Linked DNA regions of Homo sapiens: all the other regions are linked to region 1. Evidence: promoter capture Hi-C in 16 types of primary human blood cells and fetal thymus (Javierre and others, 2016). All regions are on one chromosome and are shown on one strand. Each heading gives the region's core, a stretch centred on a gene start or on the middle of the fragment in contact. The rest is flanking DNA. Distances are from core to core; before and after follow the strand shown. Region 1 holds the start of KPNA3 (karyopherin subunit alpha 3). Region 2 holds the start of NUDT15 (nudix hydrolase 15). Region 3 holds the start of INTS6-AS1 (INTS6 antisense RNA 1). Region 4 has its middle 56 kb from the start of C13orf42. Region 5 has its middle 68 kb from the start of RNASEH2B-AS1. Region 6 has its middle 49 kb from the start of RNASEH2B-AS1. Region 7 overlaps RNASEH2B (ribonuclease H2 subunit B).

What was found. The method cuts DNA at HindIII sites, captures the fragments that hold promoters and counts their contacts. A CHiCAGO score of 5 or more calls a contact.
Region 2: a contact is called between the fragment with the promoter of NUDT15 here and the fragment with the promoter of KPNA3 in region 1, in 10 of 17 cell types (non-activated CD4 T cells, neutrophils, total CD8 T cells and 7 more). The highest score is 21.1, in non-activated CD4 T cells.
Region 3: a contact is called between the fragment with the promoter of INTS6-AS1 here and the fragment with the promoter of KPNA3 in region 1, in 4 of 17 cell types (monocytes, total B cells, activated CD4 T cells and 1 more). The highest score is 10.6, in monocytes.
Region 4: a contact is called between a fragment that was not itself captured here and the fragment with the promoter of KPNA3 in region 1, in 1 of 17 cell types (naive B cells). The highest score is 6.8, in naive B cells.
Region 5: a fragment that was not itself captured here is called in contact with the fragment with the promoter of KPNA3 in region 1 in 1 of 17 cell types (total B cells); the score reaches 5.8 in total B cells.
Region 6: a contact is called between a fragment that was not itself captured here and the fragment with the promoter of KPNA3 in region 1, in 1 of 17 cell types (naive B cells). The highest score is 5.1, in naive B cells.
Region 7: a fragment that was not itself captured here is called in contact with the fragment with the promoter of KPNA3 in region 1 in 10 of 17 cell types (naive CD8 T cells, naive B cells, total CD4 T cells and 7 more); the score reaches 9.3 in naive CD8 T cells.

The regions. Positions count from the first base shown.
Region 1 is chr13:49,790,299-49,794,425 of GRCh38, reverse strand. It overlaps KPNA3 (karyopherin subunit alpha 3), which reads left to right and starts at 1,744. Exons shown (of 17, transcript NM_002267.4): 1 at 1,744-1,988. The coding sequence starts at 1,920. RefSeq lists enhancers at 1,449-1,578, 1,382-2,043, 2,044-2,705, 2,710-3,229 and silencers at 1,649-1,898, 2,019-2,588. The HindIII fragment of the contact is 6,989 bases long and covers 1-4,127 here.
Region 2 is chr13:48,035,889-48,040,015 of GRCh38, reverse strand. NUDT15 (nudix hydrolase 15) reads right to left here and starts at 2,290. Exons shown (of 3, transcript NM_018283.4): 1 at 2,112-2,290. The coding sequence starts at 2,269. It overlaps LOC124903172 (a long non-coding RNA gene), which reads left to right and starts at 2,024. Exons shown (of 2, transcript XR_007063788.1): 1 at 2,024-2,410. RefSeq lists enhancers at 1,794-1,953, 2,004-2,243, 1,410-2,285, 2,286-3,162. The HindIII fragment of the contact is 6,950 bases long and covers 1-3,325 here.
Region 3 is chr13:51,451,635-51,455,761 of GRCh38, reverse strand. INTS6-AS1 (INTS6 antisense RNA 1) reads right to left here and starts at 2,417. Exons shown (of 2, transcript NR_103812.1): 1 at 2,344-2,417; 2 at 1,046-1,759. It overlaps INTS6 (integrator complex subunit 6), which reads left to right and starts at 2,726. Exons shown (of 18, transcript NM_012141.3): 1 at 2,726-3,347; 2 at 3,707-3,784. The coding sequence starts at 3,237. RefSeq lists silencers at 1,961-2,280, 2,371-2,570, 2,801-3,060, 3,301-3,570, 3,581-3,700 and 2 more and an enhancer at 2,691-2,740. The HindIII fragment of the contact is 2,653 bases long and covers 1-2,570 here.
Region 4 is chr13:51,052,828-51,056,954 of GRCh38, reverse strand. It overlaps the pseudogene GUCY1B2. Among named protein-coding and RNA genes, the nearest start is that of C13orf42, 56 kb to the left of the region's middle. The HindIII fragment of the contact is 1,409 bases long and covers 569-1,977 here.
Region 5 is chr13:50,976,991-50,981,117 of GRCh38, reverse strand. No RefSeq gene overlaps it. Among named protein-coding and RNA genes, the nearest start is that of RNASEH2B-AS1, 68 kb to the right of the region's middle. The HindIII fragment of the contact is 1,672 bases long and covers 894-2,565 here.
Region 6 is chr13:50,957,918-50,962,044 of GRCh38, reverse strand. It overlaps a transcript of RNASEH2B not described here. Among named protein-coding and RNA genes, the nearest start is that of RNASEH2B-AS1, 49 kb to the right of the region's middle. The HindIII fragment of the contact is 1,556 bases long and covers 1,495-3,050 here.
Region 7 is chr13:50,912,590-50,916,716 of GRCh38, reverse strand. The region is part of intron 1 of RNASEH2B (ribonuclease H2 subunit B); the gene reads right to left. Among named protein-coding and RNA genes, the nearest start is that of RNASEH2B-AS1, 3.9 kb to the right of the region's middle. RefSeq lists an enhancer at 1,725-1,814. The HindIII fragment of the contact is 765 bases long and covers 1,615-2,379 here.

The sequences.
Region 1 (4,127 bases), core at 495-2,994:
CCTCCGCCTCCCAGGTTCAAGCAATTCTCCTGCCTCAGGCTCCCAAGTAGCTGAGATTACAGGTATGCGCCATATGCCCGTCTAATTTTTGTATTTTTTTTAGTAGAGGTGGGGTTTCACCATGTTGGCCAGGCTGGTCTCGACCTCCTGACCTTGTGATCCACCCACCTCGACCTCCCAAAGTGCTGGGATTACAGGCATGAGCCACCGCGCCCAGCCAAGGCCCTTTCGCTTTAAAGATTGTCCTTTTTGATCTCTTCATGGTATAGTCCTACCAACTTTTGACCTCAGTTCAATTATAAGTACTACAACATTACATACCTGCTCATGTCTACCATAGATTCTGAAAATTAACATACAAGCAAATGAAGCCCACCTGCTCCAGAAAGTAGCTTTTTGTTTTTGTTGTTGTTGTTTTTGTTGTTTTGTTTGAGACAGAGTCTCCCTCTGTCGCCAGGCTGGAGTGCAGTGGCGCCATCTCGGCTCGCTGCAACCTCCGCCTACCGGGTTCAAGCGATTCTCCTGCCTCAGCCTCCAGGCATGCGCCACCACGCCCAGCTAATTTTTGTATATTTAGTAAAGAAGGGGTTTCACCATGCGGGCCATGGTTGGCCAGACTGGTCTCGGTCTCTTGACCTTGTGATCTGCCCTCCTCGGCCTCCCAAAGTGCTGGGATTACAGGCGTGAGCCACCACACCCGGCCGAAAGCAGCTCTTTATCAGTGTAATCCATCCAAATTTCCCTCTTTCATTCTTTCGATGCCCCCAGAGGGAGTGGGAGTGCTACACAGGAGAGTCTGCGGACCAGGGCTGGGCTGCTGCCTGAAGGCTAAGATTCTGTGTGGTGGTAGAACAAGAAGTGTTGGGGGGCATGTAAATACAGGGACTGCCAGAGTGAAGGTTGCAGAACCGGGCTTGGAAGGATGATGAAGAAACTGGGCGACACTAAAGCGCCAGTTCAACAAGTATTGCGTATCTACGACGTGGTAGGCATTGTTTTGACACTAGAGATTCAGCAGTAATTCAACCAAAGTACCTGCTCTCATTGAGCTGAATTTCCGCGCGGGCACCTAGGTAACGCATATAAACACTCGTATCACATACATACACATGTACATGTCAGGTAGAAATGCTATTTATAAAACTGAAGCAGAGCATGGGAAGAGCGAATGAAGGTGGCTATTTGAGAAGACCCCCAAAAAAGCGAGACTGCAAAGCACTCGCGGTTGTTCCTTTTCTGATCTTCTAGCTACAGGCAGCGAGGTGCGCTCCCAGGAAGGCCCGCCCTCTTCCTCCTGATAGGGCGCAAGGTGCCAGGGACGCTCCCCCGCTCTTCCCCGCCCAGAGGCGGCCTTGTGGGGGCGGAGCTTTGTGCCCAGCAACATGAGCGCGGCGCGCAAAGAGCCGCGCGCGGAAGGGTCCCGGCATTCTCCTCGTTCTCACTAGGCGTGGAGAATTACTCCAGGCGGATCGTGGCATGATGGGAACTGTAGTTGACGACCGCCGCCCCGCGCCTGAGGGGCAGTAAAAGTCGCCAGGTCCGGCTCCATTTCTGGCACAAAACTTGCAGCACCGAGGGGTTGTGGAGAGCCCTTGCAGGGGAAGAGGGCAGGGTCATCCCGAGAACCAACGGGCACGTATAGCCCGGCGAACGCCCAAGCCGGTCACCGCCCCCGGTCACGTGTCGCCAGCCTCCGCGGCCGCGCGCCGCTCTCAGCACCGTTCCCGCCCCACCCGGCCCGGCAGTCGGCCCGCGCCTCCCCCGGCGCTACTGCCACCTCGCGCTCGGAGGCGTCACAGAACGTGCTCTTCTCTCCCCTCCCCCCTCCCGCTCTCCCCCTCCTCCCCCTCCCGCTCCAAGATTCGCCGCCGCCGCCGCCGCAGCCGCAGGAGTAGCCGCCGCCGGAGCCGCGCGCAGCCATGGCCGAGAACCCCAGCTTGGAGAACCACCGCATCAAGAGCTTCAAGAACAAGGGCCGCGATGTGGAAGTGAGTGTGCTTCCGCGGTCTGGGCCCGCCTGGCCGCGCCGGCCCGGCGACGCGGGGAGGGGCGGGGGGCCGGCGCCGGGCTGGTTCTCGTCGGCTTGTGGTCGGCCGGAGTTGGCCGCCGCCTCCCGTCACCGCGGCCCCGGGCTGGGCGGAGCGGGCGGCGAGACGCCGGCCGGGCTGCAGTCACCCCCCGGAGCTGCCGGCGCGGCGACCGGGAAATGCCGGCGTTTTCGGCCCCGTCACGCGGGCGCGGCCTGGTGTCGGCGAGGAGGGGATGTGGAGCTGAGGCGGGGTCCGCGGGCCAGGGCCGCCCGGATGAACGGGGATGCTGCCGCCCGGGCCCTCCGACCGCACAGCCGAGGGGGCGGCCGCTGCTTGCGCCCGCCACCGGTGCAACCTTCCGTCCGGTGCAGCCCCCTCTGCGCCTCCCGCGCGGCTCACATGGAGCCTCGGCTCTGCCGGTCCGGGCTCCTACCTTCTGCGAGCCGGGCCCAGGCGGGCGGTGGCGGCCCGCAGAGGGGGGTGGGGACCAGCCGGGTAACTGACTTGTTTGAGGGTGATCGATGGGGGAGGGTAGGATGCGCCAGGACCATTTTCTTATATTCCAGTGCTCGTCTTTGGACTAGTCGTGCCGAGCTGTTGCAGCTCATACTCCTGCAACTGCTGGCATTTGGAGCGAGCTGAAGGTGGACAATAGTTTGCCATCTATTGTGTTCAGGCTTCGGAAAAGAGGTTGCTCCGACCTCCGCTCATAGGACTTGTTTTCTTAGCCTTTCTTGGAGTGGGGTGTGCATAGGGTGATAATTTCTTTGACACGTTTTACTAAAATAAATTGGATACACAGGTTCATAATTCTCTTACATACCTCTTGCTCCAAGCTAGTAGAATTTCCAAGTGGTTGCAAAACTAAACATTCATCGCGGTCACTCAGTTAGTTGCTACTCAGCATGTTGCCATTGTCTCATTAAGGTGACATTAGCAGGTACTATTTGCAAACTCGGCTTATTGAGGCAGCGCTAGAGGTCTCTCTGCAGCTACTGAAAACAGTAAGTATAATGCACAAACTTCACTGGGACCGTGACCTTTGGATTTGTTAGGGGGAAAATGGTTTTAAGGCCGCAGCCTTCTTTGCTAATACTAGGCGACATGATTTGCAGTTTTGTAATTTTTGATAAGCTAGTGTGATTAAGAGGTGTGTTTTATCCTGTCTTAAGGAAGGTTGTGGGGTAAATATACCATTCAGTGTTCTATTTTGTAGAGAAACAGACAAACTCAGGCCGTTTTTCAGAGCTACAAAATTAAATACTAGTAGGAAAGAACCTAGGGAGATATCCGTGGAATTCCCATTTAAATGAGTCAAATAAAGATCATATATTCTTTCCTGGTCATGGTTAAATACCCTTTGTAAGAAATACATCTAAGCGAAAGTAAAACTTGGGAATAGGAACAAGAAATTTTGGAACTGCCTCCTGTTATTGGTCCACTTGATGACAAGTGTTAATTTTGAACTTTTCCCATTAGGAATTTTTCTTGAAGCCTATCCTGTTCCAAATAAAAATTTATTGAAAAATACTCATTGTTTGTACAGAAAAACCAGTAACATTCTTCTCTCGGATATTGGTACAGGTTTTTGTTTCATTGTTTACCTCTATTGTGTTCTGGTAGCTCAGTGATACTTAGTAAGGACTCCTGCACATAATAGGTACACAACAAATATTTGCTGATAAGAATGTAACCCGTGACTTTTAGATGCATGAAAAAGAGCATGGTTGCTAAGCCATTCAGCCTGGTATTGGTCACAACATTACATTTCTCGGGATTCTATAGTGTAACTAAAACATGAAATAGACATTCAAATGGTAGTTCTAATGTGGCAGACACTGTTACGAGCTTCATGATACCTTATTTAATCTGTGTAACAAGTATATGAAGTGTGGCATTATCCCCACTTTACATGAGTAAAGTATTTTTTGAGACGGAGTCTTGCTCCTTTACCCAAGTTGGAGTGCTCAGGCACTCATAGCTCAGCTGCAAGCTCAAACTTCTAGGTTCAAGGAATCTTCCCACCATGGCCTCCCAAGTAGCTGGGACTACAGGCGGACACCACCACACCTGGCTAATTTTTTAATCTTTTTTAGA
Region 2 (4,127 bases), core at 1,041-3,540, 1.8 Mb after region 1:
TGTCATCTGAGCTCAAGCTCAAGCTAAGGAAGGCCAGACTAGACCTGTGACTTCTCCGTATCCAGGCTACATAAGAAAGACAGGAGGCCGGGCGCGGTGGCTCACGCCTGTAATCCCAGCACTTTGGGAGGCCGAGGCGGGCGGATCACGAGGTCAGGAGATCGAGACCATCCCGGCTAAAACGGTGAAACCCCGTCTCTACTAAAAATACAAAAAATTAGCCGGGCGTAGTGGCGGGCGCCTGTAGTCCCAGCTACTTGGGAGGCTGAGGCAGGAGAATGGCGTGAACCCGGGAGGCGGAGCTTGCAGTGAGCCGAGATCCCGCCACTGCACTCCAGCCTGGGTGACAGAGCGAGACTCCGTCTCAAAAAAAAAAAAAAAAAAAAAAAAAGGAGATGTTTGAGACAGAGGAAAGTTTGGAGTTTTCAGCCTAGTAGGAGCATTTCCCTTCCAGACTACAAGGGGCCAACTCTGCCCCCCCAAGACAGGTGAGGAACATTCCAAGAGAATCAGTCACAAGATTGGGAGTGACTCAAGAAGGAGATACTCAGTGTGTCACTCCCCTGCTAAAGACATCCTGAGCTGCAGAAACTCACAGGCCTACCCCAGTGCATCAGAAAAGGTGTGCTACAAGGGTGAAAGCTCTTGGGTAAATCTGAAATGTGTCCCTCGGAGTTTCCAGATGCAGATGAATACAGAGGTAGAGCAAGGAAAAAGGGCAGCAGTGGAAATATCATTCCCATTGTGTGTTTCCTTTGGGCCAAGCAGATGCCACAAGAGACTGCTGGGTAATCAAATAGGAGATCCCAGTAGAAAGAAAATGTGGGGTGATGTGCTAAAAGCAAGAGCTAGGAGGTGGGCCAGCATCACAGAAAGCCCGTCACCTATGTCAGGAAAATCTCTGTGGGACTTCCCAACAACTGACAAACATACCCTGAGAAAGCACACATGTGGATATCATGCCCAGAGGACACCAATGGATGGATCAGAGCAGCATCAGTCACCTGAATGGCTTGCTCTCTCTCCTCCTCCAACACACTGGAGAAAGAAGGAAACTCAGAGACAGCCAGGTGAGAAGAGGAGGAGGATACAGAAAAGCAGAACAATGGCTCACACCTCCTTTATGCACTGCAGGGGAGGGATTAGAAACTGGAAGTGACACTGAAGGTTTAAATTGGATTGGACTTTTAAATGCTTGGAAGTGAATCATACTGACCCAAATGTGATTTATTTTTATAACCAAGTGACAAGAAAACTATAGAATTTGCAGGAAACGTCACTGAAGAGGGAAAGAAAAAATCATGTTTGAAGGCAGTGGAAGGAGAAAATAAAACCATTTCCTGTTTGTTCTCCCATCAAATTTAGCCCACTGAGTATGCCAGTTATGTAAAGATCAAATGAAAGTATACATGCAAAGAGCTTGGCATATTATCCAGCCTTTAACAAAAAGCCCATTAGAGCTCAATGTTGGCTATGGTCATTGACCTCACGGGTGGATCACCTGAGGTCAGGAGTTCGAGACCAGCCTGGCCAACATGGCGAAACCCCGTCTCTACTAAAAATACAAAAATTAGCACGGCGTGGTAGCGGGCGCCTGTAATCCCAGCTACCAGGAGGCTGAGACACAAAAATCGCTTGAACCCAGGAGGCGGAGGTTGCAGTGACTGGAGATAGCACCACTGCACTCTGGCCTGGGCTACAGAGCGAGACACAGTCTCAAATCAATCAATCGATCAATCAATCAATCACATGGAAACGGTGCAATGTCTTAGCTGACAATATCGGGCTGCTGGAGGTTTACACACACCTGCTTTCCTCCTTTTGTGTGTAAGCTGTGAGAAACACACCTCACAGACGAACTCCCAACCACCACCCAGCAGGGGCGCAGCCGGAAAGACCCAGCTAGCAAAGACCTCGCCTGACCCAGCACAGCGCCCCCTCCTGGGCGCGATCCTACGTCGCCCAGAAGTCGAGGGGAGGAACCGAGGGAACGCGCAAGAAAGGACGCAGCGTCAGCGCGGACGTTCTCACGCACGGCACACGGAAGCAAGCACGGCGTGAGTTCGTCCCTCTGCGCACGCCCCGGTTTCCTCGCGTCCGCGGCTGCTCACCCGAACTCCAGATGACCTCCAGGGAGTTGGAAACTGCCAGCTCCAACCGAGCCTTTCCTCTTCCCCAGGAGGACGCAACGCGGATGCTTGCAGCTGGTCACCACGACTCCGACTCCGACTCCTGGCCGCCGCCCGCGCGGCTGTGCGCTGGCCGTCATAGCGCGCGGGAGGACGCGCCTGGCAGCGGCAGGAAGTGACGCGCTCACTACCCCGTCCCGCGGCCGCAGCCAATCTCTCCCCGCGAGGGCGGAGGCGCCGAAATCAAAGCGAGAGCGCCTCGGCCTCTCCAGCTGTCCGCGGTGCGTAATGCGTCGCGGAGGGCTATCAGGTTGGGGAATGCCGTGTTTCCTTCCGAAGGGCAGCGTGCCTTAGAGTTTCGCTGTAACTAAAGTCGCTTACAGTTGTGCTTTGAATATTCATCACCCGTCAGCCTATCCACTCCCAGATTCCTGCAAACCATGCATTTACATGTACAAGCCGCCTGCTCTTACCAACCTCGGCACCACTGCACATTCTTTTTTCCGTGAATGACCTCGCCCACCATGGTGCACCCATTTGCCCTGTAGCTCAAATCAGCGTGGTACCAGGATAAGGATAGGTCGTTTAGAAACATCCCATTATAAACAACTATGCTTAAGGTATATTCATAAGTCATGGGAGGAAATAAAGGCTAATTGATAAATCATGCTGGGAAGAGTTAGTTACAAACAGTGGAAAACAGACATTTTCAGATGTTTGCACACCATGCACCATGCAAAATACAAACCAGCTGAATCATAAAAACAAATGACTAGTTACTGGGAGGGTTTTCTCTCTTTCTCATTATTTTTACTTCTACCAAAGTAATGTGCACATACTGGTAATTTTATTTTATTTTAATTTTCACCAAGCTAGCTAATTTTCTTTCTTTTTTTTTTTTTTGTGGAGGTGGGCTGTCGGTCTTTTGTCGAGGCTGATCTCCAACTCCTGTCCTCAAGCAGTCCTTCCACTTGGGCCTACCAGAGTGCTGGGATAACAGGCGTGAACCACTGCGCCTGACCTATAGCTATAATTTTAAGAAGTAAAATGGTGCAAAAACCGCAACAAGAGCAACCTGACCCTCCTACTTTCAGAAACAATCACTTTTAACTCTTTGAACTGTATTTCTGATATTTGCCTACTTATTTCTAAGTAATATGCTTACTCTCCATGTTATACTAAATGGGTATTAAGCTTTTCACAGCATCTCTCCTCACTATCAACATTCACATTCATTACAAAGGTACTTACAATATCTTCTCAAAAAATGGTAGTATATAAAAAGGATAATATATTGAACAATGAGATTAATCCCAGAAATACTAGGTTGGCTTAATATTTGAAAAGCCAATGTAATTCAGCATATTAACAGAGGGAGAAAGGAAATACATATAATCATCTCAATAGATGCAGAAAAAAATTAATAAAATCCGATACTCAGTTGTGATTAAAAAAACTCCACAAAATCTCTGAGCAAACTAGAAATAAAATGAAACTTTAACATGATATATGGCATCTACAAAGACCTACAGCTAACATCATATTTAATGACTGTTTTGAGCTGAATTGTGTCCCCTCAAAATTCCTATGTCGAAGTCCTATCCCCCAGTACCTCAGCATTTGGAGACAGGATCAAGTTAAAATGAAGCCACTAGGGTAGGCCCTATTCTAATGTTATGACTGGTGTCCTCGCAAGAAGTAGAGATTAGAACCCAGACTGTGTTCTATTGGAAGACTGTATGATGACACAGGGAGAAGGCAGCCGTCTACAAGCCAAGGAGAGCAGCCTCAGAAGAAACCAAGTCTGCTGACACCTTGATCTTAGAATTCTAGCCTCCAGTATTGTGAGAAAATTAATTTATGTTATTTAAGCCACACAATCTTTGATACTTTGTTATGGCTTGATACTTTGTTATGGCAGCCATAGCACTAGCCTAGCCTTATCTTGGTGAAAGACAAGATTTGGGAGGAGCTAGGGTATCCACTCTGAGCACGTTT
Region 3 (4,127 bases), core at 1,168-3,667, 1.7 Mb before region 1:
AGCCCCTAGAGCTGCCCGCCCTCCTGCAGCTGGCATGCCGGGCTGTATACAGTGGCCGGACCCCATGCTTGCTCGCTCACACACCCCTCGCTGCTCCGCACCTGGCTTGCACTTGGCAGGTGTGGGATCCAGGCCGTAGTATGAGCAGAGTGCAGCCTGCTGGGACTGGTGGGCAGAATGAGCCCGACCAAAATTCGGGCAGAGGTGCCATTTTTCCAGCTGGAAAAGTGACACTCCAAGGATCCTGTGACAATGGCTCCACTGAAAAATGATTTCGAATAACTGTAATAATAGGTAAGGTCATTGTGAACGCATGTTAATCTTCAGTAGTCTAGTTTGATTTCTTTCAAACATTGCTTCTACTTAGCAACGCAATTGAAAAATAAATCTCCAATTTATAGGGGAAAAAAAACCTCCATAGATTGGAATAAAGGCCCTCTACTGTCTAGATCTCACCTGTGTTTCTAGATCTTGTACTATTCTACATGCACCTGTTGCTCCAACCTAGCTGAACTTCACTGTTCCTCAGGAAGCCCTCAGCAATGCTGTCTTAACTTCCTTTCTTCACATTTTCAATGTCGGGAAGATCTTTTCACTAGCAGCTTCCCCTTCCTTTACCCATATCCAAATCCTACCAGTCCTTTAAGACAGTGTTTCTTAAAACTGAATAATGAACAGACTCCTAAAATAAATTCTTATGATCCTAGAGAATGTTTTCAGTAGGCTGGGGTCCACAGACCAGTTTGAAAAGCACAAATATAAAGAACTAAAGAGCAATTGTATAAAATTATGCAAATGATCAAGTTGAAAGACAAATTTCATCTTTATAACTGGTAAAATAACTCGTATTTTGCCATAGAACTCTGATTCTTATCTTCAGATCTATGATCCGTTTAAGAAACACTAAGGCAAAGCTGAAACCTTGGAAAATGTTCCTGCATCACCCCAAGGTAATACATTTTTATTTTTTCTGATTTGGTGTCTAACAACTTTCTGCCTTGGAGTAGCTAGTAATATGTAGCATTTTCCTAGAAAACATAAGCTCTTTGAAGACAGGGACCACATTTTATTTATTTTTTATATGCACCACACCTAATACACAGTACATCCTCAGCAAGTACTGGCTGTAAAGCCTATATTCCATGCTCTTATTTTGTAGTCCAAATCACTTTAAAAATCACACTTCTTCTATTGTTCATACTCATAGAAGAGCATATTACTCAAATAGCTCTGCTATAAATTAACAGTAAGTTTCAGAAGTTATACCAAGTCACGAGACTCAGATTTTTAAAAAGTGCCACAAAGTGTCTCTTCTGTGTCAATGTTAATAGAACCCTTTCTTTAAATGATCAGTAGGCAAATTAAGAATTTCCGGATAAAGAACAAACTCTGGAAAAACAAAGCTAGTGGGAGAGGCCCTGTAAATACCTACCTAGTCTTACAAGGGCTGTCTCTAACTCAGCTTGTATTTTAGGCAGCGTCTTCAGTTTTTCAACTAATGTGTTTGAGAAAACTGTTTTCCTCGGACATGCAGGCGTGGACTCCTTACTTCAGGTAAGGTGACAGCAGCTTGACAGAGAGTGCCTTCCCTCCCACGGCATTTGGGACGAGGCTGAAGGAAAGACACAGGCGGGGTTACGGGAAACCCATTCTCTGCGCCATCTGGGCAAGCTGAAGTCAGTTTTTCCGCTTTCTCACGAGGTAATGGATTATCATGGGCTCAGGTCCCCTTCAGCTCTGAAACAGGTATTCTATGGCTCTAAGTAAACACGGCAAGAGACAGGTTATTTCTTTGGTAAGATCAGTTGTATTTCCCAGAGAATAAAACGGGCAACAAACCATTTATCGATATGTGAGTCTTCCCCCTAGGCCCTAGCTATTTGGGGTTGGATAAAGAAAAAGAGGGTTTGCTTCCTTTTTGGCGGGTCCTCCAATGACAGGGCTCCTGGCCCGCTGCGGGTCCAACTCCCACCTCTCGTGGCTCCCCCGAGGCCGAGCGAGGCTCCGTGCGAGGACAGCCCCTCAACCGCACTCCCCAGAGGGAGCGCTGGGACTCGCGGAGGAGATTAGTCCCCGGTCATAAACAACCTCTCACTTCCCCTCCCCCGCCCGCGCCCGCTCGCGCCGGGGCGGCGCGCCGGGGCGGCCCTCCGAGGCCCAGGAACCTCCTCCGGCGCCCGCGAGGCCCCGAGTCCTCCTCCGGAGGGCGGCTGCGGGCCTGCCCTCTTCTCCTAACCAGGTGTTTGTCCACTTTACTCAACCCTTCTTACTCGTCCACGCTACGGCCACCTCACAGGGGCGGCTGACGCCAGCCCCTTTTTCCCTCCCCTCGACCCCTATCACCTCCAACAGCCAAGGAGAGGCCGGCGGCCCTGACGCGCAGGCTCACCGCCGCGGCCGCCCCGCGCGCGCGGACGCGGCCCCCGCCCCCACCTCGCGGTCCTTCCGCAGTCCGGCCCCGCCCCTTCCCGAAGCCCGCCTCCGGGTCGGCCCGCCCGCCCGCTCGCGCGCACCCGACGCCCCGCCTCTGCGCGTGCTCAATAACTGTCCCCGGAGCCGGCCTACAAGCTTCCCCCGCCCCTGAGCTGTTTAAATATGCTAATGAAAGGATAGGGCCTGACCAGTAGAACGGCGAGGCGGTGTATCACGTGGCTCGGGGACGTGTCAGGGGCGGAGCCTCCGCAGCCCCTGCCCGAGTTAAAACCGGAGTGTGAGAGAGAAAAGCGCTTCAGTAGCGAGAGGGGCTGAGAAAGTGGTGACACCGCCGGGGTGCGGAGGGAGTCCCTGAAACTTCTCCCAACAGCCCCAGGGCCAATCTTCCCTCAGCCCACTCCCCTCTTCGCCAGCTCCCAGGTCCCCACTCCTGTACCGGGGGTGGGGTGGGGAGCCAGGCCCGTCTCCCGCTGGGACACACACAGGGGCCGGGAGCGGGGACGGGACCCCCGAGGCGGGGGGGACGAACCGACAGACAGACGGCTGGGCGCCCGCCCCAGCGGGCAGGCAGGCAGGAGGAGGCGGAGGCGGGGGTACGACGGGGAGCACTGGGTCTGGGGAGTTTCCTCTCAACTATCGGGGGAGAAACTCCCCGCAGCCGGAGGAAAGACCCAGACAGTGTTTTCCTCCCGGGGGCCGTGCTCCCCCGCCCCGCGTAGCGGCGGTCGCCGCCACCGGCGCCTCCACCTCTACCATCTCCTCTTTCTCCACCACCTCGGGCCCCGGTGTCCCCGGCCAGCACTATGCCCATCTTACTGTTCCTGATAGACACGTCTGCCTCTATGAACCAGCGCAGCCATCTGGGCACCACCTACCTGGACACGGCCAAAGGCGCGGTAGAGACCTTCATGAAGGTACCGACTGACCGAGCCCGGGCGGCGACCCCGGCCCGGCGGCCCGCGGGCGGCAGGGTGGGGGAGGGCGGCCGGGGCGGGGGTGTCGGGGACCTGACTGCGGGAGCTGCCGGGCTCGGGGACCCCCTCCCCCACCGCGCGGGCGGGCGGGCGCTGCGAGCCGGGTTCGGCCGGGGCCCGGGCTCCGGCCCCGGGCGGTGTGTGGGGAGCGATCTGTGTGTGGGGGACGGCGTGGAGGGGTGGCCGCTGCGTGTGCGGTACTGTGGGGGCGGCGGGGCCGCTGGGCGCCCCTTCTCCGCCTCGTAACCTCGCCTCTGTGCTTCCCTGTCGCCCGCCCTGTTCCTCCTCCCGTCCCGCAGCTCCGTGCCCGGGACCCTGCCAGCAGAGGAGACAGGTATATGCTGGTCACTTTCGAAGAGCCGCCCTATGCTATCAAGGTAACAGCCCTCGCCCTCCCCCTTTCCTCCCTTCCCTTCCCTGTTCCTTCCTCGCTCGCCCTCCCCGCCCCCCCATTCACCCTTCATTATGCTCCCCTCCCCCACCCGCTGCGCTCCCAGCCGCTGAGGTCTCTTCCCTGCGGGCTCCCACCCCCTCCCCCGCTCGGCAGCGTCCTAGCGCGGCGCGGAGTCGCGGGGCCACCGCCGTCCCCTCCCGGCCCGGCCCGGCAGCGGCGGCGGCGGCGGCGGCGGCGGCGCTGCTATCAACATGGCCGACATTTCCCCTCCGCGGCGTGAGCGGCAGCAATGAACTGTGGGGGATATTTATTCAAGTTAGCCGGAG
Region 4 (4,127 bases), core at 24-2,523, 1.3 Mb before region 1:
TGGCTAACATCCCCTTGGCACTTTGTTTGCAGAACTTAGTCCAGGATTTTACTTCCAAGGATCAGCAATCCACTATGTAAGCTAATGTTTAAAGGAGTTACTATAAAGATTCAGAAGACTCTAACAGAACTCAATTGCAGGAAGTACAGATAAATCTCAGAGGAAACAGAAAGTCAGCAGGTCTGTTTCCAACTCTGCATCTCCCTTCACGTTTACTCTATTTTCCTGGTTATCTCTTCTCTCTGAAAGTCTTTTGATTTCTGTTCCTTTTTTTTTTTTCTGTCACCCAGGCTGGAGTGCAGTGGCATGTTCATAGGTCAGTGCAGCCTCAAATCCTGGGCTCAAGTGATCCTCCTGCCTCAGCCTCCTGAGTAGCTAGGATAAGAGGCACATGGCACTGTGCCTGGTTATCTTATTTTATTTTTTGGTGAGACAGGCTTTTGCTTTGTTGCCCAGGCTGGTCTCAAACTCCTGACTTTAAGTGATCCTCTTGCCTCAGCCTCTCAAAGTGCTGGGATTACAGGTATATGCCACCATGATTGGACTTAATTTCTGTTTCTTCCAAGCTTTTCTATATGCCCTTTGGATTCAAGAGATCACCATCATCAGACTGGCTCAGTTTCTCAGTGCCTCAATTGCAGATGCCTGAGAAAGAGGGTTTGATGGTCTTTGGTCTGGAGTCCATATGTATCCCATTCAGATGGACTTTGGAGGGTGGGGTCTCTAAGAAGAGGTAATGGGTAGAGCCATCAGGACTGACGTATATTCTCCATTGTATAAATAAATACATGAAAACGGAATGAATGATTGGATGATTCATGTGTGTATGAATGGAAGATGAATAAATGAATGAGAGGTGGATGGATGACTACCAAGCCCAACCAACCCATTTAGGAGAGAGGTGGGTGGGATTACATGGCTTCTCTCTATGTCATGGGTTCTTAACCAAAGGTTCATGGATAGGCTTGAGAAGGTCTGAGAACCCTCCGAAGTCATCTATTAAAATGTCGTGTACATGTGACTATATGTATTTTCTGGGGAGAGGGTTCATAGTTTTCATCAGAATCTCTAAGAACTCTACAATCTAAAAAAAATCAAGGAACCCTGATTATGAATCCTTGGGATTTTTGTTCTTGCTAAATAGGAAATGCTGGCCGGGCACAGTGGCTCGCGCCTGTAATCCCAGCACTTTGGGAGGCCGAGGCGGGCAGATCATGAGGACAGGAGTTCGAGACTGGCCGGGCCAACATAGTGAAACCCCCGTCTCTACTAAAAATATAAAAAAATTAGCCAGGTGTGGTCCAGCACCTGTAACACCAGCTACTTGGGTGGCTGAGGCCAGAGAATCGCTTGAACCTGGGAGGCGGAGGTTGCAGTGAGCCGAGATCGCTCCATTGCACTCCAGCCTGGGTGACAGTGTGAGACTCCATCTCAAAAAAAAAAAAAAAAAAAAGGCTGTTAACATTGTGACATCCTGAGAAGCATTCCTTCGAGCCCAGTATATCGCAAAGCTAATTGAGCCAGAAAAAGTCAGAATTCATTCATTCCCTTTTCTGCTATCCCTCGTCCATCCAATTGACTCACCAAATTTCTCACCCTCTCTTCAAGACTGAAAACCCCTGGCCCTCCATGTTATCTACTTTTCCCATAAATAAAGTCTAGTTTAAAAGTAGCTGAAAGCAGAGAGTTTTTATTTTTAACTTTGATCCAAAAATGTTGCTTGTCTCCCCACTTCTGTCCCTTTCCTGGCCACAAACATTTTTGCTGGTTCATCTAGCTGCCTGAAACCACAGCCCCTCAGAGCCAGAAGGGCCCTTAGAAATCAATCTGGTCAGAGCATTTCACCTGGAGGACTCAGCCTCCAAAAGATCATATGAGAATATCTGTGGGAAATTCTAAAAATATAGTGAATATTATAATATTAAATATACAAAGCAGAAGTATTTTTTTCTAACAAAAGCTGTCAAAGGTAAAGCTTGAGAAATACTTTTGTTTAGTATGACTATATGGAAGATAAATTTTCTTCTTCCTTTTTTTTTTTTTTGAGATGGAGTCTCGCTCTGTTGCCCAGGCTGAAATGAAGTGACGCGATCTTGGCTCACTGCAACCTCTGCCTCCCAGGGTTCAAGCTATTCTCTTGCCTCAGCCTCCTGAGTAGCTGGGATTACAGGCATACTCCACCACACCTGGCTAATTTTCTTACTTTTAGTGGAGACAAGTTTTCACCATGTTGGCCAGGCTGGTCTCGAACCCCTGACCTCAAGTGATCTGCCCACCTTGGCCTCCCAAAGTGCTGGGATTACTGGCATGAGCCACTGCGCAGGGCCTGGAAGATAAACTTAGTAGGAGTAGAAACAGATATCACGAGGCCTGAAGCTTATATAATTTGGGAAGCCTCCTTTAAAAAGAATATAATTACCAATAAAAATTTAGCTACAAAAATAAGTACTCTTCTTAGAATTAAGGAAGAAAACTTTAAAGCTGACAGATAACATAAACATCAAAAGCTGGAAACATGTTTTTATTGTTAGTATCATAAATTAACTAACCCTCTTTTATAATACTTTCCTGCATCTTTGGCTGTATTTTGCTTTTTCTGTTCATTGGACAATGATTTTATAATGTCATTTTCTATAAAGAGGATAGAATGAATATTCTAGCATGGCTGGCTGAAAATTGTATTTATTGTATTTTGTTTTCATTGTTAGCTTAGACAAATTTCTTTATGCACATCCATAACTTTCTCAGCAGTTTCTTGCTGAAGTGTGCTTCTTTCATGTTGGCAAGTCCTGGGAAAACTCCAGCGTTTGATCTCCCTCGACCTGTTCCACCCATCTCCCCTACTTTTACGCAAGTCCTCTTGGACCAGGCGGTCCCCACTGGGAATGCGCAGCCTCTCTTTCAGATGCCTTTTTGGGGGTTAGAGTAGAGTCTGGATGTGTGTTGAGTCTACCAGAAGCAAGTGGTCCTGAGGACTGGGTGGTCTGCAGCCCCACCCACAGGCATCCAGGACCACTACCAGGGCATATAAGGTGACCCCTCAGGCTGGGGATGGCTTCAAGCTAGAGGGGGCCAGGTGAGGCTGCTTCCTCCCTGTCCTGGAAACCTCAGCTTCATTAGCTTCCAAAGCAAACCTGAAGCACTCTTGATTTAAATCAGAAGTTCTTAAACACTTTGGTATTCAGAAGCCTTTATACTCTCATAAATTATTGAAGACCCCACAGAGCTTTTGTTTAATCTATGGGTATTTATGGTATTAGAAATTAAAACAAATTAAAAAAACATTTTTAAATTTATCTAAAATAATTATATGTTATATAATTATGCTGTAATACATAATAGTACATGTTAGTGTAACATTTTTATGATAACTATATTATTCAAATAAATTAATGACAAGATGGCATTACTTTACAGTTCTGGAAATCTCTTTTAATATCTGACTTAATGGAAGTAATGGAAGTGGGATTCCATCTTCCGCAATGTATGTATTCTGTGATATGATTTTGGTTGAAACTTGTGAAGAAAATATGGAAGGAAGAAGAATTTAATACTCTTCTCAGATAATTGTGGCTATTCTTTTAAACCTCACAAAAGCTTGACAAATCGTATTTTCTCAAAGGTCAGTTATAATGTTGAATCTGTAACTGTACTGATGACCTTCTTCGTACTCTGTTATATTAAAATCTCTTGATCTGTGTTACACTTGGATAGAAATTTTTTCGCATCATTTTGTACTAGCTTGCATGAGTTATTTGGAAACTATTAGCTCACTGACTTGTGCTAATCTTACAAATGTTGACATGTTTCACTATACAATATCAAAATTGCATTTGTCAATATCATCATCACCTTAGCCTCTAAGGATTGGGATGCTAATAAGCTTACAGTATAAGATGCAACTTTTTTCCCCAAACTTGAGTTTTGTCATTGGCAACACATTCTGCCAGTTATTTTCCTTGAAGTGACAGGCTAACTTTGTTATTTTCTTAAGAGAATGTGTGCCAAATATCCAAGTCTGAGTAACCATAGTTCGTCTGTCAGTGGTTTTTTAAGTGGAAATGATGTTCCATTAAAAAAAGTGGCTAATTCATCTCATAACTCAATCGTGTAAGTACTTTTCCTGG
Region 5 (4,127 bases), core at 480-2,979, 1.2 Mb before region 1:
CCACATTGCCTGGTCACCTGGTCTAAGCGAGAAGCCCCTCTAATTCCTTCTCTGTGCTTTGTTGTCTTTCAGGATTAAAGTTTCCTGATATACATATGGAATATTTCTTAGATTTATTTCTGGTTATTTTAGCTTTTTTGATGTTCTTGAAAGTGTAAAAGGGTCTTTTCTTCCATGACATCTATCCGGCAGTTGCTTAAATGTATAAAAGCTTTTGATATTTATATATTGATTTTACATTAAGCTACCTTACTGAATTATAATTTTTATAATCTTTTTCAGATGATTCTCTTGGGTTATGCAAATATAAGATCTGCAAGTAATGATAATTTTACTTCTTTTCAATTTGTATATGTCTATTTTCTCTCTCTTATTTGTTTAAAACATTCTTATCATACTCCTGACTTTAATGGTAACACTACTGATATTTCTCCACTAAACATAATGTTGACTTTTATTTTGTATAAATTAGGGAAGTACACATCTATTCCTATTTCACTGAATTATTTTGAGATCAATAATGGCAGTTGAATTTTACTAGGTATCTTTTTTTTTTTTTTAATATAGGAAGGGGTTTAATTGACTCACAGTTCCACAGGGCTAGGGAGGCCTCAGGAAACTTACAATCATGATGGAAGGGGAAGCAAACACATCCTTCTTCACATGGCGACAAGAAGAAGTGCTACCAAGTATCTTTTAAGTATCTAAGGAGATTAATAATACCTTATTTCTTTCTTAGATAACTAATATGGTAAGACTTCTTAATATTGAACCATCTTTATATTATGAATAAACCCCAATTTGTCACATTGTATTATTCTTTTAATGAATTGTTTGAGTCTATTTGGTAATATTTTATTTAATATTTTTGCATTAATATTTACAAGTAAGCTTGTTTTTTTGAACTCTACAATCACCAGGTTTTAAAAAATCAGTATTTTGCTCACCTTTTTGTCCTGTTTAATAAATCTTTCCTGTACCCAAATCAATTTCATTTTGCTTGGTTTTCTTATTTTTAACCTCTGAGCTCTTGTGCTATTATTATTGTCTATCTTCCTTCAAACACATCTTTGTTTCTTTGATGGTTTACATTTTCCCCCATGCCTACCCTGTAGTGCGCCAGCTCAAACAACATCACTTGTCTTTCTGTGACTTCCATGATTCTTCCCTCTCTACTTTGTGCCCAAACTTCATAGAGGTAATTGTTTAAGTATTTTATGTTTGTAGTAAAATGCTTTTTACTATTTTTATCTGCTCTTTGGCAACACTTTATCTGCCATTTACTTTTTCTGGTCTTTTTTTTTCTTGTTTTATGTTTCATATCTTTGAAATAACTTGGGTTTGTTCTTTTTGGTTTCTCATCTTTGAGGCACAAGAGTTTTCCTTGGGCCAAATATTTACAGGGCCTCATCCCAGCCTAGTAGGAATTTTCTTTATAAACCAGGGTTTTGCATGCAAGTTTTAGTTCTATTTCTCCCTGATCAATAAAGACAGGTAGCTATGGGGATTTTTAAAAAGCAACGTCTCTCTTCTTTCCCTCTGCCACTGAGATAGATAGTTCCTGCAAATGTGATGTGGATGTGTGATTTTTTTTTTTTTAACTCCATCACCTCTTCATTTCACAACTAAATTGGGTCTTGGAGAGTTCTTGCTGTTCTGGTGTGTATACTGGTTCCTTCTGTCATAAACATGTGACTTAGACTTTATTCCTCACCTCTGCCCTCTCTGTTTACAAATGTATTTTTGCTGACTCAGTCTCATTTCCACAGCCATGAACTCTTCCTTCCTCTTTCTCCTGGAAGCTCCCCTGCTTTTTGCAGTCCTTCCATCTATTTGTTGTTCATAGTTTAAAATACCTCCTAGTTTTGCTGAAAATTGATTTTTTGGTTTCCATTTCTTATTTTCCTTTTGCTTTGGATGATTTCAAAGAAGAGATTGGGGGTGGGAGGTGGGGATAGAGGATGAACTTCCCACCTCCATCTTCAAATCAGAAACATTAGTATTTCAAAACTTTAGTGTGAGTAAAGGGTAAAAGGCAGCTATTTCTGAAAATCTTTTAAAGAAAAACAATATGGGATTCACTTTATAGAGCACATAGACATTGAAGCCTCAAGGTGGATTTAAAGCATTCGGGGTATTTTCTTAGCTTATCACTTGGGAAAGTCATCTAATCTTTCTAGGCCCCATTTTTCCAATGAAGGGGTTTGACAAGAAGATTCCTAGAGCCTGAAGACAGAACAGACTAGCCTTGAAGCCCAGTGTTCTCTCCTAGAGAAATATACAGAAGCATGCAAGCCTGTCCTGCCTGAGATTCATGGGCTGGTTACACTCCAGCCACCGCTGCCTCTGTCACCCTGCCTTCTACTCTAGCTCCATGGCAAATATTTAAAAACCAGACCTTTTCATAGGCATCATACTGATTTAGTCTCTAATCATGAATCCAACCAAAATATCTGGATCCTCTCTGCCATCAGTCCATGGTGACCAGATCTGGGCTGTGTTAGGGGTCATTGCATTCAGCCTGTACTCTGGAAATTACACTCCCAACATTCATTTACTAAAGCTTTAACAAAATTATTCAGACAAACTATCCATTTAAAAAGTAGACTGAGTAGTTATCTTTGAAGACCCAAGGAATCTTTACCCAAGATTAATAAGAAAAAACAAACTGAAAAAAAAACTGGTGATTTTGTTCACATTAAAAAAAAAATGCTGCATGTTAACCATCTGTCATGGTTTACTAATTAAATCACTGCAACTAATCTTGTATTAATATTTTTTTAAAGTTAAAAATGGGTTTCCTGAAAATGCTTAGAATTTCTGTGGAATTGCTTAGAAAGTCTTTTTACTTTTTGAACTTCCTTGGCCTTATAAAACTGTCAGCAGAGCAAAGTAAGGGCCAGTTTTCTGCAGCCATAACTCCCCCATCTCTTTTACAAGTCTTTATTCTTCGGAAATATAAAGGGTTGTGTTGAAAAGCATTAACTGGGGGCCGGGCGCGGTGGCTCACGCCTGTAATCCCAGCACTTTGGGAGGCCGAGGCGGGTGGATCATGAGGTCAGGAGATCGAGACCATCCTGGCTAACAAGGTGAAACCCCGTCTCTACTAAAAATACAAAAAATTAGCCGGGCGCGGTGGCGGGCGCCTGTAGTCCCAGCTACTCGGGAGGCTGAGGCAGGAGAATGGCGTGAACCCGGGAAGCGGAGCTTGCAGTGAGCCGAGATTGCGCCACTGCAGTCCGCAGTCCGACCTGGGCGACAGAGCGAGACTCCGTCTCAAAAAAAAAAAAAAAAAAAAAAAAGAAAAGCATTAACTGGGAAAATAAATGAGCAGCAAAATTATCAGTTTCCATTCAGTGATTAGTTGCCTCTGGTCTGCTTGTTAACAATGGAAAGCCTTTGAAGGCTGACGCCTTTCTTTGCACCTGGGTAAATGAAGTCACCTGACTTTGCCCTCACCTTGCCTGGGCCTGTCCAACCCTAGGGCCCCCAGATAGCTGCTGGCCCTCTAGGCTGTGTCCCCACTGGCCTGTTAGCCAGCCCTTATGGTTCTAAGAACAACTTATCTTGGAATTTCCACTGCCAGCTTTAGACTCTAGCACCAGGCAGAGAAAAAGTGAAATTATATCCCAAAGAGATTCTTCAAACCCAAAGAGCTAAGACTACTTCCTTGCTGAATTCTCACTGCTTCTGATTCTGAAGACAGGGAAGGTGTTGTCAATTCCTTTCTTTCCCTTGGGCCTTGCCTTGGGCTGCACCTGCCTGAATCCCATTCATTCCAGCTCAGTTCCACCTTCTCCATAAGAGCCTCCCATCTACACCTGGCAACCCTGTAGCTCCCTTTTTATGGCTCTTTATTCTGTTTGAGAACCTACATTTCCATCCCTTCAAAGCCAAACTCCTCTGTCTGACTTCAAGACATGAATAGCCTTACCTCACACTGCTTCTAGACACAGATTCCATTCCCTGAGCAATCTCCCTGGGTGTTACAAAGGAAAGATAAATCACAGCTCTGCCAATTAACAACTCTTGCATCTCATGGTCTGCTGTCTTGTCTAGAGAACGGTTAAAAAATGGCAAATGGATAGATTTACATTTAGTGGAGGAAGGAGCTTCCCAATATAGGA
Region 6 (4,127 bases), core at 1,023-3,522, 1.2 Mb before region 1:
TCTCAAGAATGCAAAATTAGTTTAACATTCAAAAATCAATCATTATAATTCATATATTAAAAGACATTCCTCTATTAAAAAGAAAACTACTTGATCATCTCAGTAGATACAAATTATTTGACAATATCCACATATGATAAATACCTATATATGATAAAAACTCTCAGTGAACTAGGAACAGAAGGAAACTTTCTCAGCCTGATAAAGGGAATCTACAAAAAACCACACACATAGATAAATACTGATAGATACATGGATAGATTTAGAAATGTTGATACGAGTATATAGTGTATATATGTGTGTGTACATGTTGTACACACACACACATTTCCTAGCTTTGGCTCCTAAGCAATGACATACCAATAGCAATGAGCATACCTACTGCCTAGATCTTGGTTTCTAAATACCATTCTTCACTGAAAGGAACCAGGGTTCTTTGAAAAAAAGGTGGATTCAGGGCTTGCACAGGACAAGAGGCTGAAACTCCAGTCGCAGAAGCAGGAATGTATTAAAGAATGATAGAAACATACCCAAAAGATACACAAGTCAGCTTGAAGGGTCTCCCACTAGCTCTTCTGAAACAACATGAGCATTAAAATTAATAATAATAATGCAATATAGCCCACTGGATAAAATAAAAATCTATAAATCCATACTGTTAAGAATTCATAAATGAGGGAAGAAGCAAGGAAAAGGGAAAGTTCTTCCTTACAGAAGAATGCCAACTGATAAATATAGAAGAAATGAAAGTTAGAAAATCATCAGATCCTAAAAATAGTGGGCAAACATCCGATAAGAAATAGGATACTTACAAAGTCCCAGAATACTTACCCACAAATTACTTATTAATTATAAAAATAATCAACAATAATTCACAATGAAAACTGTAGGCAGCACCTTAATCAAGTGATCAAAGTCAACAACACTGATATTGGGATAGACTGTGATTCCTGCCATGGTGTACTGAGAAAGACATATTACTCCTGGAGGTGCCCTAAGAGTATGACTTGAATTTAATCAAAAAGAAATATTAGAATAAGAAATATTCCAGCAAATATTTACCCTGTACTCAAAAATGTCAAGTAAGACAAAGAACAGATGAGAAACTCTTGCAGATTAAAGAAAACTATAACAACAAAAAGGCTCCAGTGCTAGATAGTTTTACCTCTAAGATTCTTAAACATTTTCCAGCAATAGAATATAATAATGCAAAATGAATCCTTCCAGAACATTGGAAAAAATGGAAAGCTAGCCTAATTCTAACGCTAAAGCCTAACAGCAGCATTGCTTATGAATATGTCTGCAAAATTCCTTAATAAAAGTGTAGAAAGTCTAATTGAAAACTATATTTGACAAAGGTTAAGAAAGATAGGATGTATCCATTATGCTATTGATCCTTTATCTACTGCCAGGGTGAGTTTATTAGACATTTGGGTACAGTTTGATAGTAAGTAGTAAAAACTTTATAGACACCTCAATAGATGCCAAAAAGCTTTCTGATAACAACCAACACCAATTATTAATTTAAACCTTAAGGAAACTAAGTATAAAAGGATGGATAGTCTTTATCATATTAGCAACAGCTAGTGTCAGAATTAATGGTAAAGCACATCAATAAAATCACCAATTAGACAAAGACGGCTATTATTACTCTTTAATACTGTTCTGGATATTCTAGCCCATGTAATATAATGTAAAATATATAATAAAAGAGGTGTAACTATTAGAAAGAATTGCATGCAATTTTTAAAAACTAAATTACATACTATATTATGTACTAAAACCCAAAATAAATAAAATGGAAAATTTTTCCATTAATAGTTTAGTAAACTGGTTATTTAAAAGATAAATATATAAAAATATAAAACTTTACCACAAAATGACCAGTTGGTAGACCTAGCTGGAAAAAAACAGATTTCATTAATAGCAATGAAAATATCTACACATACTCATACAAAGATATGTCTAGAACCTATTGAAGATGAAGAACCGAACATTAGTGAAAGGTATTCTTAAGACTTGAGTAACTAAAAAGAAATACTATATTCCCAAATAAGAATATTTAAGTTTGTAAAGATGTTTGTTTTCCCAAAGTAAGTTATGCATCTAACAAAATCTCAGTAAAAATCCCATTGGAACTTACTCTTAGAACTTGACAAAATAATCCTACAGATTAAATGAAAAACTAAACTGGTGAGAAAATAATTAAATTACAGCTTTACCTCACAGCATATTTAAACATAATTACACATTCTCTAGATGATTTAAGTAATTAAATATAAAACAAAAATAGGCCAGGCGTGGTGGCTCACGCCTGTAATCCCAGCACTTTGGGAGGCCAAGGCGGATGGATCACCTGAGGTTGGGAGTTCAAGACTAGCCTGACCAACATGGAGAAACCCCGTCTCTACTAAAAATACAAAATTAGCTGGGCGTGGTGGCACATGCCTGTAATCTCAGCTACTCGGGAGGCTGAGGCAGGAGAATCACTTGAACCCTGAAGGCGGAGGTTGTGGTGAGCTGAGATCACGCCATTGTACTCCAGCCTGGGCAACAAGAGCGAAACTCCATCTAAAAAAAAAACAAAAAAGAACCAAAAACATAACTATTAAAAAAATCAGAAGAAAATAAAAGTGTCTGGTTAAATTTCCTGTAAAATGAAATATCTTTCTAAGTACAATATCTGTGTAAAGGAAAAGTTTATGTATATATGTCTACATAAAAACTAAAAACACCTGCATGTCAAAAATCATAGGCAAAATTAAAGGCAAAGTATAAACCAAGAAAGGAAATTTACAACAAACACAGTAGAAATAATTAATGTCCTTAAGTTATAGAATACTTTTAGTCAATAAGAAAAATATTGATACTCTAATAATTTAGCAAAGAATATAAAAGACAATTCTCTATAAGATGACAATTGATTAGTAAGTATGAAAAAATGTTCAAAATCACTACTAATCAGGGAAATATGAATTAAAACCACAATAAAATGTTTTTACACTTATTTCCAAAGGTAACAACCAATGCTAACAAGGTGGCATTAAGCTTTCACACCCACTGTTTGTTAGAGTGCAAGACCATTAAAATAAGCCTAGAGTGCAAAAGCTTATAAACTTTCCATGAAATATATTCCCATAAATATATATTTGAAAATCCAATAAGCCCACATCCAAAAATCCATTATAAGGAAACAATAAAATATGTGGACAAATATTTACTTATAATCTGATTCTTCAAATAGTGAACATTTGTGAATAATCCAAATGTCCAAACAGGATCATGGTTATTAAATAATCAAATATCCAAATAATCAAAAATTATACTGTCATTAAAAAACATATTTATGAAGAACAGTTAGTAGTCTGGGAAAATAGTAACAAAATAATGTTTATAAAAAGGTAACTACTGTGATTTTTCACAGAATTAGAAAATAACTATTCTAAAATTCATATGGAACCAAAAAAAAGCTTGGATAGCCAAAGCAATCCTAAGCAAAAAGAACAAAGCCAGAGGTATCACATTACCCAACTGCAAACTATACTACAAGGCTACAGTAATCAAGACAATATAGTACTGATACAAAAACAGACACATAGGCCAAAGAAAGAGAATAGAGAACCCAGAAATAAAGCCACACACCTATAGCTATCTGATCTCCAACAAAGTCAACAAAAATAAGCAATGGGGAAAGGACTCCCTGTTCAATAAATGATGCTGGGATAACTGACCAGCCATATGCAGAGGAATAAAACTGGACTCCTACCTATCACCATATACAAAAATTAACTAAAGATGGATTAAAGAATTAACTGTAAGACCTCAAGCTATAAAAATCCTAGAAGAAAACCTAGGAAATACCCTTCTCAACATCAGCCTTGGCAAACAATTTATGACTAAGTGCTCAAAAGCAATTGCAACAAAAATAAAAATTGACAAGTGGGGGCCTTATTAAACTAAAGAGCTTCTGCACAGCAAAATAAAGTATCAACAGAGTAAACAGACAACCTAGAGTGAGAGAAACTATGCAACTGACAAAAGACTAACATCCAGAATCTATAAGGAACTTACACAAATCAATAAGATACAAATAACCCCATTAAAAGGTAGGCAAAAGACATAAACAG
Region 7 (4,127 bases), core at 748-3,247, 1.1 Mb before region 1:
GGTTTCAGGAAAGCACACCAAGGGATGTTTGCAGGAGGCTATGGTTGTCCTCAAAAATGTAACCTGCTTTGAATGGCTTTTGAAACATCCTAGTTTGCCATTGGGTCCAATACAGCTCTGTAAATGTATCTTTACCTCTTTTGCACCTATTTGTATTTTCAATCTTTATCCACTTTCAAAGATAACCCATTCCAAATATGTACTGTCTACTGTCTGAAGCAATAAGTATTACACCTCTTCAATGTTCAAAGCCTAAAATACAAATTCTCTTTGTCAACTTGTTTCATATCACTGTGTGAGTTTCTGTCCTTATCAAAATTAAGAGGAAAAAAACAGCCCCTACCTCTATTAAATCAACTGAACTTTCTCCAATTTTATGTAGAACAGCACCATATAAACTTTTATGTAACCCCAATCTCCCTGAGTGTTTTAGTGTTACATTAAATAAGTAGTAAGGGTAAACAATGAAATAAAGGCAAAAATAGAAAAATAAGAAAAAAAAATTTAAGAAGATTGGAATTCATTTTGTAATGTAAACAACATGAAAAAACTGGAAAGAAATATCTCCAAAATTTTTATTTTGGGTGAGGATGATGGACAAATTATTTTATTCTTTATTTTTTTCCCCATATTACTAGAATTTCTATACTGGGTAAATATTATTATTCTAATTATTTAAAGTTATCAAAAAAAAAAACCACTGTGAGAAAAACGTGTAAATGTAGAGTTAACTGGTCAAAAGAAGGTTAAAAGGCAACAACAATAACAAAAAATCTTTAAAAACAATCAGGCAAAGGTAGCCAATCATGCAGGAGAGCCTTACCAAATGTTGAGACCTAGGCCCTCGGAGGAGTAAGCCAGCCTCCAGCTTAGCTGTTTCGGGGACAGATAATGAAACAGGGACTAGAACATGCAGCCCCAAATCCCTTACATCCCCTTGCCACGGGGTGGCCCATTCTGCTTTAGCAAACAGTCATCCTTAGACAAGGAAGTCATAAAGGTAGCTCTGAATAAAGGCCTGGAAATCCTACGTGACATGCTCTACTGTTTGGAGGTTGTGCTCTGAAGCAGAAGGCTGAGGTGCCCACACTGAGAAGCGAAATGGCCACTCAGGGAAAACACACTTGGACTCTCTCTAGCTCCTGGCATGTATTAGGTGTTCAATACATATTTATATAAAAATGGCACTTAAATGAATAATCATGATGAAATGTGTAGGTGGTCAAAGAGGTACCACGAACCTGGGCAGTAACAAGAGGAGAGACCCATGGGAAGGCTTCCTGGTAGAGGTGATACTTGAGCTGGGTTTAAAGGATAAGTAGGAATTTGCCAGGTAGATAAAGTGAAGAGCAGGCAGGATTCCAGGCAGACACAAAGTCAAGACGGAGAAGCTGAGCTGGAGCAAATGGCTTAGCTTTGTGGAAAATAAAGTTGAATGGAACCTTGAGGAAAGGGTAGAATTTGGATAGAAGTAGAAGGGGAGGAAAAAGCAGAATAAGCAAAGACATTGCAGGAAGAAATGGAATGTGAGACTTTTATTCGTTCAGTAAATATTTATTGAAATATCTACTCTGTCCCAGGCCCAGGGCTAAAAGCTTGAGGTGTAAGAAAGCTTATGAGTAACTCAAACCACAGATAACAACCCCATGAGACTGGTACTCTTCTCCCCACTGTGGAGATGACAAAAGTGAGGCTTTATAGTGAGGAAGTAAACCACCCAATGACACAGAGCTAATAAATAGCATAAATCTAGCTTTTAAGTCTGTGTTATTATAGCCAGGCTTTGGAGCACACTGACTGAGTTGTTTGTTTTTTAAAATCACAGTCTCAGAGGATGTGGGAGAATCCATGCAGTCCCTATTCTGTTACTCAAATAAAAAATCATGAACACTGCTTGCTTTCCTTTTATGAATTTTTTTCTGACCTGGAGGATAAATATGTGGGAGTCATGAGTTCTTACTTATAAATGTCCCAAGTATTTTGGAACAGTTACTAAAGGGACAAGATCAGACTCTGGAAACAGCCTGATTACACCAACTGGCAACTGAAGTCCATCCACTTCAGAACGTGCTCAGATAGATAGCAAGGGGAGCAGATCCAGTGGCCATCTGAGAAAGGTCAGTCGGGTCCCACCGAAAAACATTTTGCAAAAACAAAGCCAGACTGAGATTCATGTGGAAAATGTTAAACACGCTCTATGCTGGAAAACTCTGAGACTCCTACACTGCTGACTGCCTGCAGTAGACTATTCGGTAAATGACACATCTTCCAAAAAGCTGAGCTTAATTATTCCGAGGTTGTCTAAAATCAGCACTTGAATTGGCCAGGTTCTCTATCATGTGCCAAGTGAAGTTCATCTCTTCTGAAAATAAGGAAGCTTTCGGCCCTCACGTATATTTCTAAACACAAACATATACATACATACCGTTTTGACAAAGAACAAAAATCCTGCTTAACTTTTTCTTCTGAGATTAACCATGAGCCATTAGGTAAAGAAGGGAAAAGAGTGTTTTTTAGTGTCACTGAAAAGTCAGTTAAATCTATAGTAGTTCTTCCTTTGCCATACACTTTAAACCTTTACTTTTTTTCCTCCCCCAAAACAAGAGGCATTTCTTTGGACTTATAAAAAGCTACAATTATGCCAGTTGGTGGACCAAAAAAAAAAAAAAAAAATCTTCAAGACTGTAATCAGAAATAACATTAATATAAATTTTCTCCATCATTAAATAAGAAAATTAGTTTTTCCTTTTAAATTTATTTTTTAAATCCTTTAATTAGAACATAGTTCTAATGCATGAATTTATACAATCCTTCCACATCTATTTTTGCATTCCAATTGGAAAGATAGCTCTGGTATAATCATTTGTGATTATCACGATGCCTCACATAAAAAGCTGTTATTGTATTTGAAATGTCTAAGGTAGACAGGGATTCTTATCTCCCAAAAAGCAACCCATCCTCTACCTCCATGAAACTGCTTTCTGTGGAGAAATAAATAATAAGTGCAATCTTTCCTAAAATACTTTTTAACATGTATATTCATGAAATAAAGGGGGATAACTTTATTGCAAAACTTGTCTCTAACTGAAAATTCGAGTTGAGGTGCAGTTTCACCTCAGGACTGTTTAATCAGGGGGCTGATTAAGGAATATTTTAATCAGCCTAAGTGAACCCAAATGAGTTTTGTTTTAACAGGCCTGAAATGATTTTTCTTCTTTTTTTTTTTTTCAATACACAATGTTAGGGTTTCCCAATTAACATTTCCTTGGAGATGAACCCAATTAATTGTTCAGCCCCCAACAGCAATAAATGCAGTCTTCTAAACGCAATGAATCAGGTGACCTCTCACACCTGGGTACATCCCAACTTAGTAGCATTAACAAGAAAAATGGACTTAAGAAAAACATTAAAAATATGACTCAAACATTTACTTTTAGGGCAGAAAAAGAGGGATGGAAACTTATACTACTTTCCAAAAAGTAAAGTAATGGCCTCTTATAGAAATTAAAACTGCAAACAGGCTAGTATTCCCAGGCCATTTTACAGAAACATTTAAGACCATCCCAAACTAAAAGAAATGCTTGCCTTGCTGAAATGGGAAATGGTTCTGTCTTCACCAGCCTATGAAAACCAACGTCCCAAGTCTGCATATCTCACAGTATCTCTTCCAAGTTCCAGATTTGTTTATCTGAGATAGCCAGCTTCTCCAAACAAACTGAAAACTAGAGGCAAAGATACCTAAATCAAACATTTAAATATATCCTTCAAGATATAACACAGTGCTGTGGCAGGCAACTCGATGAACAGCATGAATTAAATGTTGGAAAAAAGTATCATTGCAAGGTTAGGCATCTTTACCCTTGTCTCACGGATAAATCCCTTTAAAGTTCTGTTGGCCTGTGGGTTCATGTGCTCACTTTTCAGTACACAAAGTAAGTTCTTCAGATCCCAAGTTTTCTAAAACCGAATACAAGCCGCCTCCGCCAAATACTTTTGAAAAATGTTTAATAATCTTTGTTTTCTTTATTAAGGGCCCAGCTTTACTGGAGTATGGTGCTCCCTCAGCCAAGGGCATATCGTTTCCAACTCCCGAATGGGTAACTAAGCAGGCTGATTTCTCATCTTCT